2 separate regions of the Homo sapiens genome follow, and region 2 is linked to region 1. The links are contacts of gene promoters, found by promoter capture Hi-C in blood cells and fetal thymus (Javierre and others, 2016). All regions are on one chromosome and are shown on one strand. The core of a region is centred on a gene start or on the middle of the fragment in contact, and the rest is flanking DNA. Distances in the headings are between cores, read along the strand shown.

Evidence for each region. The method cuts DNA at HindIII sites, captures the fragments that hold promoters and counts their contacts. A CHiCAGO score of 5 or more calls a contact.
Region 2: a fragment that was not itself captured here is called in contact with the fragment with the promoter of ASB10 in region 1 in 2 of 17 cell types (erythroblasts and M2 macrophages); the score reaches 6.9 in erythroblasts.

What each region holds. Positions count from the first base shown.
Region 1 is chr7:151,185,963-151,189,171 of GRCh38, forward strand. ASB10 (ankyrin repeat and SOCS box containing 10) reads right to left here and starts at 1,288. Exons shown (of 6, transcript NM_001142459.2): 1 at 853-1,288; 2 at 430-697. The coding sequence starts at 1,168. RefSeq lists an enhancer at 2,286-2,375. The HindIII fragment of the contact is 17,456 bases long and covers 1-1,368 here.
Region 2 is chr7:150,876,290-150,879,125 of GRCh38, forward strand. LOC105375567 (a long non-coding RNA gene) reads right to left here and starts at 841. Exons shown (of 5, transcript XR_928171.3): 1 at 720-841. The HindIII fragment of the contact is 2,523 bases long and covers 93-2,615 here.

The sequences.
Region 1 (3,209 bases), core at 38-2,537:
CCTCTACTCCCTGTCTGGATCACTGGACAGTAAGCTCCCTGAGGGCAGGGCCTCAGGGACTTAGTTGCTGTTGTGCTTAGCACAGTGCCTGGAACATAGGATAAGCTCAGAAAGTGTTTTCAAAAATTTTAAGCAACACCACCTCCCCATAATGGAGCCAGGCAATTTCCCAATGCGGGCCATGCAACTGCACCCCTGCCACAGCCTCCCTCCACCCCTGGGAGACCAGAAAACTGTCCAAAGTCCAGGCCACTCCAAAGTTCATGGGGTCAACGGGTGGATGGCTTGGGAAGTAATTGCACCCTGACCCGCGCCCCAAGCCTGGACTGCTCTGTCCCAGGTCCCTGACATTTTCCCCCATCCTCCCTGAGAAGGCCTCTTTGCTTCCCTTCAGAGTGGAACTGGGGGTTGGGGTGAGGGGTCACTCACTCAAGGGTGCCAGGCCCCCGGCAGAGATGCAGGGGGCGTTTCCCATCCTGGTCAGCGATGTTGGGGTCGGCTCCTGCCACCAGCAGCACATGAACACAGGCAGTGTGGCCTGCAGCACAGGCCTCGTGCAGGGCGGTGCGGCCCCCAGGGGCACTGTCTGGCCTTGCTCGCCGCCTCAGCAGCAGCCGCAGGACTTCCGTGTGGCCACGGCTGGCTGCCACATGCAGTGGGGTGGTCAGCTCCTCTTCGTATGTCAGAGACCAGAGTCCTAGGGAGGGGAGACGTGGGCCTCAGATCCCCAGGGAAGGCAGAGACCTTCCAGCCAATGGGGTGAGGTGGGCAGAGGCAGGAAGAGGGAGCCCAGAGCTCCATCTGCAGCCTCCCCTCTCTCCCACTGAGAGCCCCCAGTGCCCCGGCCCGTACTCAGAGCACGGATGTTGAAGCGGAAATCCCTCCATCGCTCTGGGTCGCTGGTATCAAAGACGGAATCAGGAGCCAGGCCAGTACTGGAGTCCGCGAGGATGCGGGAGACACAGCCCACGTCCCCAGCCAGCACTGCCTGCCAGAAGGCAAGGGCAGGTCCTGAGGCTGTGCGGGTGACGATGGGTCCCGGGCCAGACTTGAGGTGCTCCTCAGACCCTCTGCTGGGCTTCTCCACCAGCCTGGCACAGAGGGGGTGTCTGTCATCGAGGGGCTCTCCCTGCCCCTTGCACTCTTCTGGAGACCAACTCATGAGCATGTGGGCAGGGAAAGGGGAGTGGGGAGGAGGAGAGGTATATGCCAAAGGCAGAGAGAGAGAGAGAGAGCAGGAGGGAAATACAGACAGACAGAAGGCCCCTGTGTCCCACGCTCCGAGGCTGACCTGGCCACGCATCCAGCAGGAGCTATTCTGGGCTCCACATGACTGTGTTCTTGGGCCAAGGTGTAGGCTATTGGGCAAGCTTTGAGGTCGGGGAGAAACAGCCGGGGGCTTCTCCTTTCACTCAAGCCCTTAGGACCTCTGTGGCCGAGGCAGTCAGCCCAGCCCCCTGGTTCTCAGCAACCCCCAGATGCCCCTCACCCCTCTGGTGGCTGCTCCAGCGAGGCTCTGCGGCCCGGCTCTCCAGCAGCAGGTCGGCTGTGCTGTGCGGGGGGAACAGCTCCTGCAACCTTGCCAGGTCCCCGGTGTAGAGGGCATTCTGCAGGGCCATGTCTTGGCAGAGCAGTGGTGATGGCCGAGGGGGCTCCCAGGCTGGGCGGGAGTGGGGCCTCCAGATCCGGCAGGCCGGGGCGGAGGGAAGGCACCCCAGATGGTGTCCCCAGTGGGGAGAGGAGTTCTTTCCCCAGGGCATGGCTTGTTCTGGGAGAGCCAAAGCAGCACGACTCCCAGCGATGTTGCTGGTGGACTGGGCAGGTGGGTGCTGGGCCCGAGCTGGGTGGGGCCCAGCATGGGAGGCGCAGGGGAGCACAACATCAGGCAAAGCCATAAATAGCCCTGACTGGCCCAGCTGTCAGTCAGGCCGGGTGGGGGAATTAGGGAGGGGCAGGAGAACAAGTGAGGCCTGAGCCCGCCAACCCTGAGCTTCACCCCAGGGCTGTATGACCTCAGGGTGGAAAGGGACCACCCGGACCATGCTGCCCAGTCCGTCATCTCGGCATTAAAGGGAAGTGAATTTCCCAAGATCACGCAGAGAGCTTGTTGCAGAGCCAGGACTGGAACCCAGGGCCTTGAGCTCTTTCTTGTTCACCAAATCGGCCTCCAGCTGCCTGGGCTCTGATCCCACTGGGAAGGCCTGTGGGTGCCAGATAATATTTCCTGCCCTTCCAAATGTCATCTGTTAGCCCTGCACCTTCCCACTCCCAAACCAAGGGAGGAGTTCACAGTAGTGACACAGATTGCCCTCGCTGTGTGAGGCACCCCTCAGGGGGCTCCCTTAGACAGACGTGTGCCTGAGTAACAGAGCGTAACCCACAGGCAAGCCACAGAAACTCCCCATGCTCGTCCTTGATGCCAACCCCCCCATCTCCCTGGATGACCTTGGGTGGCATCTCTCCCCTGCTGTGGTTACATGGGGTCTCTTCACTAGAGAGTGAGAAAGGAGAAATGTCTCTGTGTACTCAGGCACTGACTTTTGTTTGGGGGCCGGGTGGATCAAAAGGAAAAAAAGAGAGAAAGAAGATGAGAAACCAGGCCCTCGGGCTCAGCTCTGACCCACCACTGCCCACCATGGGCTTGAGGTGCTCCAGCCCCATTGGTCTTGCCCCTTTGGCTCACGCTGGCTTAAAAAAATTTTTTTAAATCAATTGCTTTTTAAAAAGTTTCATTTTTAATTGACAAATAATTGTATATATTTATGGGGCTATAATATTTTGATACATGTATATAATGTGTAATCATATCAGGGTAATTATCACATCTATCAAATGATATTTACCATTTATCTGTGGTGAGAACATTTAAAATCCTCTTTTAGCCATTTTGAAATGTACATCATTATTCACTACAGTCGCCTTGCTGTGCAATAGAACACCTGAACTTATCCTATTTACCTGTAACATCATACCCACTGACCAATGTCTTCCCTTTCCCTTTCCCTGTCCACCTCCCTCGAGCCCCCAGCCTCTGGGAATCACCATTCTACCCTTTACTTCTATGAGTTTGACTTTTTTAGATTCCACAATAAGCAAGATCATGCGGTATTTGTCTTTCTGCACCTGGCTTATTTCACTTAGCACAATGTCCTCCAGATACACCACATTTAAAAATCCATTCATCTATTGATGGACACCAGTTGTTTCCA
Region 2 (2,836 bases), core at 104-2,603, 310 kb before region 1:
TGTCACCATTAGAGAAATCCAGTTGAAGGTTCACAGAACTCCGTACTCTTTTTGCTACCTCTTGTGAGTTTATAATTACGCCAAAACTAAAAAGCTTTCTTAAAAATATATATACAAATTCTCAAGTAAAATATAGTAAACTTGTTACTTTTTCAGGTATTTGATGCCTTTATCTGTAAATTCTTTCAAAGGAAATATGGCATGAACAAATATTGAGACAGGGATGTTTCACCAACTCTCAACTCCCCTTATTCAAGGGTTGGATCATAATAACTACATCTAAGTAATCCAGAAATTATCATTTTACTGAAAACCACGAAGACTATGTAGATGGAGAGAGATGAAAGAAGTACTATTTTTAAATCTGCAGCTTTATATCAATATACATAAATACATACCAGATAACCATATTTTATAAGAATACATATATATTCAAGGGTATATGTCAAATTTTAAAAAGAAAGGGGATTTGGCGTGGTCCTATCATTATGAAAGGGGATTCGGCGTGTTCCTGTCCTTATTTTACTCATCATGTCATCCCCTATCGTCTACCAGGCGTCCAGGCGCTGAGGACCAACCTTCTCTTCCTCCTCTGGCTAAGAAAACAATCAGCTTTCCCAGAGCCACCGCTGTCTGGACGCTAGATGGCGCCGCTGAGCTCCCCCCACCCCCCGCCTTTCCCCCACCCCCCCGCCTCCTCCCCACCACCCCGCCCACACCTGCGGTTCCTGCAGAGGGGTTGCTCAGGTGACCGGGCCGTTTGGACCACTTGGTTCAAATTCAGGATCCAGGTAGATGCAGCTGGGGAAAGCAGGGAGGAATGGGAGGCTACAGACAGAATGACCACATGCGTGCCTTCCTGCAGGGCTTGTCTTCTCCAAAGCCCCTGGTCAGTCACATGTTTTACTTGGCTCCCTTCCTTCTTCCTCGCCTTCTCCAGACCCTCTAAGCATGTGCCTTTGTCTCTTCCCAAACCTCCTGAGTCGCCTGAGGCCCTCTGGTGGTTCAATTCTTTATTGGAAGAACAAGCAACATGTTTACCCCAAGGGTTTCCACGGAGAAATACAAACACGTCTATTATTGGCAAGAAAAGCAGCACTGATTTGTTGAAGAACTAGGGAATTGTTCTAATTCTGCAGATTAGTCTCTTCTTGTCTTTGGTTGAAGTAACACAACCATCTCCATAGAGGTTCCTAAGCATAGAGGAAGATTGTATTGTAACAATACAAGGCTGCCGTAACTATGTAATTGGCCATAATTGAAGACAAGAATGGTGGGAAGTATGGGTTTGCAATTACCTAATATTCCTGTCCTAACCCATTTCAGGAGATCTTGCTGCGAGGTGCATGTTACCCATATAACAGACCCTGGGAGTATACCCAGGAGCAGTGGTGCGGATCACAGAAGGGGCTTTAAGACGCCCCTGGTGTTCTATGGCCATTAGCTACCAGTAGGAGCAGCTGCACCCCTGGCTGACCACAGATGTGGCTGTCAAACACAGTGAGTTAACAAAGGACAGTGAAACAGGGGGACGTGCAAGTCAGAGGAGATGCCTGCTTCCTCCTAGATCCCCACCATTTTCCTGGCTTTCTACTCTATTCCCAAAAAGAAGACACACTGGGGTAGAGGGCTGAGGGGAATAATTCAGTCCACAGATGCAGTTTTCTCTCTTTTTGCTACCATGGTTCTGAATGAAGAGCTAATATTATACTATTCCCACCTGTGATGAGCCCCAGTCCTTTTGATTCTTTTTCTTCTTCATCATCCATCCAAACGTCCCCAAGTGGTAAACAGGCCAGCAAACCTGTTATCCTCTCTTCTGTCCCTTCCACACATGTTTTAGCTTTAGTGGAAGCTCACAGAATAACCCTCAATTATCTGTTGTGGTCTGTGGCATTACCTTCTTAAAGGAAAGCTGATGGGTTCTTTCAACAGGTTTGGGGTCCACTCCCAGCTAACAATTAGTGTGACCTTAGCCGAGCACAGTGTCTCACGCCTGTTATCCCAGCACTTTGGGAGGCCGAGGCGGGTGGATCACGAGGTCGGAGATCAAGACCATCCTGGCTAACATGGTGAAACCCCATCTCCACGAAAAATAGAAAAGAAAATTAGCTGGGCGTGGTGGCGGGCGCCTGTAGTCCCAGCAACTCATGAGGCTGAGGCAGGAGAATGGTGTGAATCAGGGAGGCTGAGCTTGCAGTGAGCCGACATCGCGCCACTGCAGTCCAGCCTGGGTGACAGAGCAAGACTCCATCTCAAAAAAAATTGTGTGACCTTGTTTTCCTTTACCATTGTTTCTAGTTGCCCAGGAATCTAGTGGGAAGATGTGGCTATGGTCTGGGGCAGGATATTTTGGGAAGCCTGGTGTCCAGGGATATTAGGCAAACAAACTTTTGCATTGCACTTAATATTTCAGAAACCCAGCTGAATAGCTCTTATTTTTATGGCACTAAGAAAGTAAATCTTAAATCTTTGCTCTTAACACCATTAAGACAAAATTATTATGAAAATTGGACAAAGTGCCTTATAGCAGCTGATATATTTAAAACATCAATGATTGTACCCTTAGCATTGTTTTATTTTTATTTTTTAAAATTATCTAAACATTGTTTCAAAGCTTGTGAAACTACTAAAAGACAAAGGATTGTAAATGTCAATGAAAGGAAAAGTAAAACAGCAAGTATTTTAGCATACGGGGGCAATCAAGTCATAAAGAAAAAGGGTTAGTAGCTCACTAGACAATAAATTATTATAAAGAAGAGCCAAGAAAAGTATTGCTTTGAAACTTTTTACTTTTAACCTTCAGCCTTACTGAAGAATTTGTTCACTATACTTT